Linked DNA regions of Homo sapiens: all the other regions are linked to region 1. Evidence: promoter capture Hi-C in 16 types of primary human blood cells and fetal thymus (Javierre and others, 2016). All regions are on one chromosome and are shown on one strand. The core of a region is centred on a gene start or on the middle of the fragment in contact, and the rest is flanking DNA. Distances in the headings are between cores, read along the strand shown. Region 1 holds the start of DHRSX (dehydrogenase/reductase X-linked). Region 2 overlaps DHRSX (dehydrogenase/reductase X-linked). Region 3 has its middle 290 kb from the start of DHRSX.

Region 1 (2,935 bases), core at 12-2,511:
TGGGCAACGTAGCAAGACCCTATTGCTACACAAAAAAATTAAAACATTAGACAGGTGTGGTGGCTCACACCTGTAATCCCAACAGTTTGGGAGGCAAAGGAAGGAAGATCGCTTGAGCCCAGGAGTTCGAGACCAGCCTGAGCAACATAGCAAGACCCCGTCTACAAAACTTTAAAACATTAGTCGGATGCAGTAGCTGGTGCCTGTAATGCCAGCACTTTGGGAGGCTGAGGCAGGAGGACTGCTTGAGCCCAGGAGTTCGAGAGTAGCCTCGGCAACAGAGCAAGACTTCATCTCTACTTCCTATTACAAAAAATAATAATAATAATAAATTCTGAACCTGCAAATCTAGGAACAGAAGTTATCTGCATACACAAAACACAGTGGCGGTCATCACTGATGAGTTCAGACAGTGAACGAGTCCTGCAAAGTTGGAGATCTGTGACTCAGAGATGTTTACAAAGGCCAAGGAAACAAAGTTGCCACTTAACGGGCCTGCCCTCCCCACCAGACCTCCGTGGCTCCCCAGTGCCCGAGAAGCCGCCTCTGGGCCCCCTCTGGAGACGTCCTCCGGAGAAGGGCCCATCCTCACTTACCCTGGGGTGGGTAGGGGTCGAGGTCCCTGGGACGCCCGCTCCTCCCCTCCGGGGCCTGGCGGGGGCGCGCGGTCACTGGCCGACCGCAGGCGGCAGGCAGAGCCGCCTGATGTCTTGGGCGCGGGGCGTGCGAGCCCCCGGGTCCCCGGCCATGGCCCGGAGGTGTCAGGGTGCGCGGGGGGGCGGCTGCACGGGGGCTGCTTGGTTGGAGCCCGACCCGGGACAGGCGGGGAGGCCACACGCGCGGGGAGGGAAGGGTCGGGCCGGGTCGGGCCGGGCCAGGCGCGCAGAAGAGCCGGCGGGGACGGAAAGCGCGGGGCGGGGAGGTCCCAGCGCGCACGCCGCCCCCCCCCCACCCCCGGCCACACCTCGACCCCCGCCCAGCCCCACTTCCGGGAGCGCCACCGCCTCGCCAAGGTCACGCGGAGCCCCCGCGCCCCCGCCCCCGAGCCAGCCCGCGCCCACCCGGGTCCCCGGAGCCCTGACCCCTGCCCCGCCCCGCTGACCTGGCTCCAGGAAGCCCCCGCGGCAGCGCCGCAGCAGCTGCGCCAGGATCACCGCGGCGCCTACCGCGTAGACCCGCAGGGCCGCCCGCGCCGCAGACAATGGCGACATGGCTGCCCCGGCCGCGCCGCCGCCGCTTCCGCGCCGCCCGCGGGACTCTGCGCCCGCCCGCCCGGACGGACGGCGGAAACGCGCGCGCCCCGGACCGCCCCCTGCCCGCCCCGAACCGCCCCGGCCTGCGGGGAACCCCCAACCCCAGACCCCGCCCGGGCCCTCTGGGATCCCGCACCGCCTGCAGGACTGGGGACCCCGAGCGGACAACCGACCCCAGCCAGGACACCCCCCCCAGGACCACAGACTCCAGCCAGGAACCCCCCCCTGCAAGGACCATAGACTTCAGCCAGGACCCCCCCCCCCAGGACCACAGACCCCAGCCAGGACGCCCCCAGGACCACTGACCCCAGTCAGGACCCCCCCTTCAGGACCACAGACCCCAGCAGGGACCCCCCACACACACCCCCAGCCAGGACCACAGACCCCAGCCAGGAATCCCCCCCAGGACCACAGACCCCAGCAGGGACCCTCCACACCTCCTCCAGGACCACAGACCCCAGCAGGGACCCTTCCCCCTCCCGGCAGGACTGCAGACCCCAGCAGGGATCCCCACCACCACAAGACCAACAGCCCCAGCCAGGACGCCCCCAGGACTACAGACCCCAGCCAGCACCCAAGTCAGATCCATAGACTCCTCCCAAGAACACCCCCCAGGACCCCAGACCCCTGCTGGGACCCCCAAGACCACAGGCCCCCCCACTGGGGCACGCCCAGACACCCCACCAAGAACCCCACCAGGACTACAGACCTCCACCAGGACTCCCCAGTACCACAGATCCTCCCAGGGCCCCCCAGGACCACAGACCTCCACTGGGACCCCCACCACCAGGACCCCTCTCCAGGATCACAGACCCCTACTGGGGCCCCCTTCTAGGACCTCCACCTCCATCACAACCACCCCCCGGACCACAGGCCCCAGCCAGCACCCCACAAGACCACAGACCCCTGCCAGGACGCCCCCCAGGACTACAGACCCCAGCTGGACTGCCTCTCCAAGACCCCACACTCCAGCCAAGACCATGGAACCCCATTCAAGCCCCAGCCAGGACCCCCACCATGGGATCACAGATCCCCTACCCAGACCCTGCAGGGGACCAGGACCACCACGGGAACCACCCTCCCCATCTTAGCCAGAATCATGTAACCCCACGCAGACCTCAGCAGGGACCACAAGGACTTGGACCCCATAGGGAACCCCAGACAACCACCCAGAGCCATGCCAGGATTATGGACCAGGACTCCCACAGAGGACTCTGAACAGCTGTAAGGACCATGGACCCCACACCCTAATTCGTACTGACACCACAGAACCTGCCCCAAGCACGGACCCCACACCCCAGTTCCTGCTGACACCACAGAACCTGCCCCAAGCACGGACCCCACACCCCAGTTCCTACTGAGACCACAGACCCCACCCCAATTCCTGCCAGGCCACAGACACCACCCACCAAACCTACCCCTCCACTTCCCTGCCCCCAACAACCCTGCAGGGATCACAGACCCCCTTCCCGGCCCCTGCAGAGAACTCCAGACTACTTCAGGGACCACGAGCCCCCTCCCCACCCTGATCCCTACTGGGACAGCAGACCCCTACTCAGACCTTGGTTGGGAACCCCAGACAACCACAGAGTTACCTGGGCTCCCTCAGGGAACCCCAGACCAGCACAGAACCCCCACCCAGACCCTTACCAGGGCCAAGGCTGAAATCCCACATGGACCCC
Region 2 (2,934 bases), core at 173-2,672, 260 kb before region 1:
AGGCGGCTCACTCGAGACTGTGAGTTCGAGATCAGCCTGAGTAACATATCGAAACCCCGTCTCTACTGAAAATGTAAAAATTAGCCAGGCGTGCTGGGAGGTAGCTGAGGTCCCAGCTACCCAGGAGGATGAGGCCGAATTGCTTGAACCCAGGAGGCGGAGGTTGCAGTGAGCCGAGATCGCACCACTGCACTCCAGCCTGGGCAACAGAGAGAGGTTCCATCTTAAAAAAAATAAAAATAAAAAAATTCCCAGTACCTGCATCCTTGATTTGATTAATTAACCTGTCACCCTCTCGGCACATCAATCCAAGTTCCAATCAACCCTAAGACAGACTTTCATTAGACTGCATGGCGGATACAAATACATGCTTAAGACAAGCAATGATACGAGTGGTCTACTTCATGGTGAAGTGGGCGCAGTCTACACTGCAAATTTGTTCATTTTGATGGCAGGCCTGATCACATGATTTCAAAGTGGTCAGGACTTGCTGGACATGAGCCCTGAATGGTGGAGCTGATACACTCAGCATTTACAATAGCTTTCTATTTTTTTTTTTTTTTGAGATGGAGTTTCGCTCTTGTCGTCCAGGCTGGAGTGCAGTGGCATGATCTGGGCTCACCACAATTTCCGCCCCCGGGTTCAAGCGATTCTCCTGCCTCAGCCTCCTGAGTAGCTGGGATTACAGGTGACTGCCACCACGCCTGGCTAATTTCTGTATTTTTAGTAGAGACTGGGTTTCTCCATGTTGGTTAGGCTGGTCTTGAACTCCTAACCTCACATGATCCTCCCCCTCAGCCTCCCAAAGTGTTGGGATTACAGGCATGAGCCACCACTCCCAGCCGATAGCTCTTTTTTGTAACACCCATTGATCTTGAGACAACTGGGGTGGGAAGAGAGGTAATAGCCACGTTCATTTGCTCCCTAGGAGGGGTATACATTGTAGGGGGTACTGAGTTTCACTGATGAAGCTGCGAGGAGCTTCCTAGAGGTCTGAAGAGCACACATGCCCTCTGAAATACTAAGCTACTCTCCTACGGAGGCTGAGACCATCTGCATGTCTCAGCATGAAGAATGGCCTGATGCATTTGTATACAGGACAAATCAAACCTCTCATCTTTATAAATGCACAAATCATAATCCCAACACTTTGGGAGGCCACAGCAGGAGGATCGCTTGGGGCTAGGAACTGGAGACCCGGCTGGACAACATAGCAAGACCTCGGCTCTACCAAAAAATTTTAAAAAATTAGCCAGGCATGCTGGTGCATTCGTGTAGTCCCAGCTACTCGGGAGGTGGAGGTGGGGTGATCGTTTCAGTCCAGCAGGTCGAGGCTGCTGTGAGCTGTGATTGTACCACTGCACTCCAGCCTGGGTGACAGGGCGAGACCCCATCTCAAAAACAAACCAATCAACCTCCTAGTTTTTCTTCTGGTACCGACTGGTCGCCCAGGTTACTGGCCGTGAATTTGGAATCGAGTCCATGTGTTCTGATGAGACAGAGGATAGAGGTTTCAGAGTGACATACAACCATGCCCTCAGATGATATGAAACATCACAGAGATATGTATGTCACACAGATTCTCCCCAGGGACCCTGGACAGATCCTGCAAGGTTTTTCTTCTTTCTTTTTTTTTTTTTTGAGACGGAGTTTCACTCTTTTCACCCAGGCTGGAGTGCAATGGCGCCATCTCGGCTTACTGCAACCTCCGCCTCCCAGGTTCAAGCGATTCCCCTGCCTCAGCCTCCCGAGTAGCTGGAATGACACACACGCGCCACCACACTCGGCTAATTTTTTTTTTTTTTAATAGAGATGGTGTTTCACCATGTTTGACAGTCTGGTCTCGAACTCCTGACCTCAAGTAATCCACTCACCTTGGCCTCCCAAAGTGCTGGGATTACAGGCATGAGACACGGCACCCAGCTGATCTTCCAAGTCTTAATATACAATGCATGCATGCATGCATGCATACACACTAGTAAATAATACATACACAGCAATACAGAATTATCATTACAAAGACAGCATCAAGCTACTGCAGCTGTATAGCCTTTTCTTTAAAATTCTTACATTATTTTAATTTCATTTCCAGGCTAATGCATATTCTTCTGCTCTATAATTTTAAAGTTTCCACAATGTTGTCTCTTATATAAAGGCAGTATCACTCGAGCAATGCCCCGTGGTTATTTTTAATCCAAATTTGCAGATGATGATCAAAGGATTAAAGAATGATTCATGTGGCTAAAGTTGCAGTTTGCTTGTTAAATATTTAGAAAGAAATAATGTCAAGGCCAGCCATGGTGGCTCATGCCTGTCATCCCAGCACTTTGGGAGGCAGAGGTGGGAGAATCACTTGAGGCCAGGATTTCAAGGTTGCAGCCAGTGATTGTGTCATAATTCCAGCGCACAAGACCAACCTGGGCGAACAGCAAGATGCCGTTTCTACAAAAAAAAAAAAAAATGCACAGCAGCCAGGGTGACAGAGCAAGACCTGGTCTCTAAAAAATTTAAAAGAGGCCGGGCGTGGTGGCTCACGCCTGTAATCCCAACACTTTGAGAGGCCGAGGCAGGTGGATCACGAGGTCAGGAGATCAAGACCATCCTGGCCAACATGGTGAAACCCCGTCTCTACTAAAAAAAAATAAAAAATAAAAAAAAAATTAGCCAGACGTGGTGGCGGGCACCTGTGGTCCCATTTACTCGGGAGGCTGAGGCAGGAGAACGGCATGAACCTGGGAGGCGGAGCTTGCAGTGAGCTGAGATCGCGCCAACGCACTCCAGCCTGGGCAACAGAGCAAGACTCAGTCTCAAAAAAAATAAATAAATTAAATAAAATAAAAAAACAGCAAATGCTCTCCTTGGATACTGAAGTCACTCTCTGAGGGATTCATGGGGGTTTTATAAGGATGAAATGTATCCTAGTGTTGGTGTATT
Region 3 (3,004 bases), core at 178-2,677, 290 kb before region 1:
GATGTCAAGAGATCGAGACCATCCTGGCCAACATGGTGAAACCCCATCTCTACTAAAAATACGAAAATTAGCCTGGCATGGTGGGGCTCACCTGTAGTCCCAGCTACTCAGCAGGCTGAGGTAAGAGAATCGCTTGAACCCGGGAAGCGGAGGTTGCAGGGAGCCGAGATCTCGCCACCACACTCCAGCTTGGTGATGGAGTGAGACTCCATCTGAAGAAAAAAAAAAAGAAAAGAAAATCTGAAGAAGCAGGTCAGATTGTATCAATGTCCGTATCTGGTTGAGCGATTTACTGGAGTTTTGCAAGATGTTCTAATTGCAGGAAGGTTGGTAAAGGTACATGGGATGACTCTGTACTACCTCTTACAACTGCATGTGAATTTACACATCTTTGCATACAATTTATGTGTTAGTTCAGGCTGCTGGGATAAAACACCATAGAGTCGGAAGCTTAAACTGTTAACATTCCTGTATCCCACTTCTGGAGGCTGGAGGTCTGAGACAAGGGTGCCAGTATGGTTGGTTCCTGGTGAGAACTCTCTTCTTGGCCTCCTTTTTCTTTGTTTTTAATTTTTTTTTTTATTATACTTTAAGTTCTGGGGTACATGTGCAGAACGTGCAGGTTTGTTACGTAGGTATACACGTGCCATGGTGGTTTGCTGCACCCATCAACCTGTCATCTACATTAGGTATTTCTCCTAATGCTCTCCCTCCCCTATCCCCCCACCCCCTGACAGGCCCTGGTGTGTGATGTTCCCCTCCTTGTGTCCATGTGTTCTCATTGTTCAACTTCCACTGATGAGTGAGAACATGCAGTGTTTGGTTTTCTGTTCTTGTGTTAGTTTGCTGAGAATGATGGTTTCCAGCTTCATCCCTGTCCCTGCAAAGGACATGAACTCATTCTTTTTTCTGGCTGCATAGTATTCCATAGTGCATATGTGCCACATTTTCTTTATCCAGTCTATCATTGATGGGCATTTCGGTTGGTTCCAAGTCTTTGCTATTGTGAACAGTTGGCTGCCTTTTTCCTGTGTGCTCACAAGGCAGTGGGACAGTGAGCTCACTCTGAGCTCATCATCCTTTTATAAGGGCAGGAATCTCATGCATGAGGCTCCATCCCTCATTAGGCTCCACCCTCATGACACCATCACCTCCCAAAGCCTCCACTTCCTAACGCCACCCCCTTGGGGGGGGGTGACAATTTCTACAAAAGAATTTGGAAGGACACCAATGTTCGGTCGATAGCAGTAGTCAATTAAAAATAGGAGATGATATAAAAAGATGTTAATATCTAATTGTCAGTGGATTTGTGAACTATCTGATGGTAAATATCAGATAAAAGATAGTTAAGGATAGAACATCAAAGAACCAAAGCTAAATCTATTTTTTTTTTTTTTGAGACAGAGTTTCGCTCTTGTTGCCCAGGCTGGAGTGCAGTGGTGTGATCTCAGCCCACCGCAACCTCTACCTCCCAGGTTCATGCGATTCTCCTGCCTCAGCCTCCCAAGGAGCTGGGATGCTAAATCTTTTACAGTAATAATAATAAAATAACAAACTAATAAGAGAAGCATTACACCAAGAAGACAGTATAATCATGAACCTGTAGGTCTCTAGTACTGCAGCCCCAAAATATCTAAAGCAGAGAGTGACAGAGATTTCCAGAACTCTCTCTACAAAAGACAGGATAAATACATTACATTTCATAACATGATTAAAATTTCAATTTATAGAAATTTCAATTTATAGAAACATAAGTCTATAAAACCATAAGTCTGTAAAACCAGGAGATCGTGACCATCCTGGCTAACACGGTGAAACCCCATCTCTACTAAAAATACAAAAAAATTAGCCGGGCATGGTGGCAGGTGCCTGTAGTCCCCACTACTCGGGAGGGTGAGGCAGGAGAATGGCATGAACCCAGAGGCGGAGCTTGCAGTGAGCTGATATCGTGCCACTGCTCTCCAGCTTTAGGGAGAGAGCAAGGCTCTGTCTCAAAAAAAATAAATAAATAAAAAATAAAAAGGCAAAAAAAAATCACTAATTTTAATTCTACACCTTTGGAAATATTAAAATACCCTCTTCATCCATTGGTCAAATCAGGCAAAATGAAAACAACGACTTCATTCTAAGTCTATGAAATGCAGCCCCAGGGGTCAGGAAAAAAATGAGTTCACAATACATTTGTTACGATTAGAAGGAAGAAAACAAACAAACAAAAAAAGATGGCATGTGTCGAGGCAAGAAAATAGACAACATATTCCAGAATGAAGGCAAAGAATTATAAGAGGATAAAACAGCAGTAACTAAAAATGATAAGTAAGCGATAAACACAATGATGAGTAAAATGTCTATTCCTGAATCCGAGACGGTGCTTCACAAAGACAGCTTCAGAGGCCACAATTCCAAAGCTTTTTTCTACGTACAGATATTCTCCCCGATGCCTGGGTTAATGGCGCCCGAACTGCAGAAAACATAACCTCAACCGAGTTTTCTGCTTCAATGACAAATGACACCAGAGCCCCACCACCAAACCATGGCTGGCATCTATTTAGTTCTGAGCACTGCTCTGACAGAATGCATCAGTCTTGCTTTGCTCTCAGCAAAACTGGGTGCAGAGGGGACGGCTGTTAGCCTGGTCGTTGCTAATGAGGAGATGAGGAGTTGGAAAGATAGAGACGCAATGGCTTAACTACGGCACCTGATGCAAGACTTGCTACCTCCCCAGTTCCAGCCCAAATGGAGAAATGGGTATGATGCACCTTCTGTGATCTGGGGATCAGTTCTGATGTCTGCGGTCCAGCCCCCCAACCTGTCCTGCCTTTGAAAATGTGGCGTGTCCCTTCTATGACAGTTTCTCCTAACAGCCAAGATGAGAGATACCACATGTTCATGACAGACACTCTCAAAATCAAGGTGGCGTCCAGACACACATCTAGACTGTGATGTGTTCCCCACACACCAGCCTTTGTTGACTGCACACATTCCCACTAAAAGACACACACCA

Evidence for each region. Contacts are between HindIII fragments. The CHiCAGO score rates a contact against its expected background, and 5 or more counts as called.
Region 2: a contact is called between a fragment that was not itself captured here and the fragment with the promoter of DHRSX in region 1, in 1 of 17 cell types (neutrophils). The highest score is 8.3, in neutrophils.
Region 3: a contact is called between a fragment that was not itself captured here and the fragment with the promoter of DHRSX in region 1, in 1 of 17 cell types (neutrophils). The highest score is 7.3, in neutrophils.

What each region holds. Positions count from the first base shown.
Region 1 is chrX:2,499,715-2,502,649 of GRCh38, forward strand. It overlaps DHRSX (dehydrogenase/reductase X-linked), which reads right to left and starts at 1,262. Exons shown (of 7, transcript NM_145177.3): 1 at 1,103-1,262. The coding sequence starts at 1,211. ZBED1 (zinc finger BED-type containing 1) reads right to left here and starts at 1,262. Exons shown (of 2, transcript NM_001171136.2): 1 at 1,103-1,262. The HindIII fragment of the contact is 4,150 bases long and covers 1-2,935 here.
Region 2 is chrX:2,236,960-2,239,893 of GRCh38, forward strand. The region is part of intron 6 of DHRSX (dehydrogenase/reductase X-linked); the gene reads right to left. Among named protein-coding and RNA genes, the nearest start is that of DHRSX, 260 kb to the right of the region's middle. The HindIII fragment of the contact is 4,297 bases long and covers 1-2,934 here.
Region 3 is chrX:2,207,977-2,210,980 of GRCh38, forward strand. No RefSeq gene overlaps it. Among named protein-coding and RNA genes, the nearest start is that of DHRSX, 290 kb to the right of the region's middle. The HindIII fragment of the contact is 1,958 bases long and covers 449-2,406 here.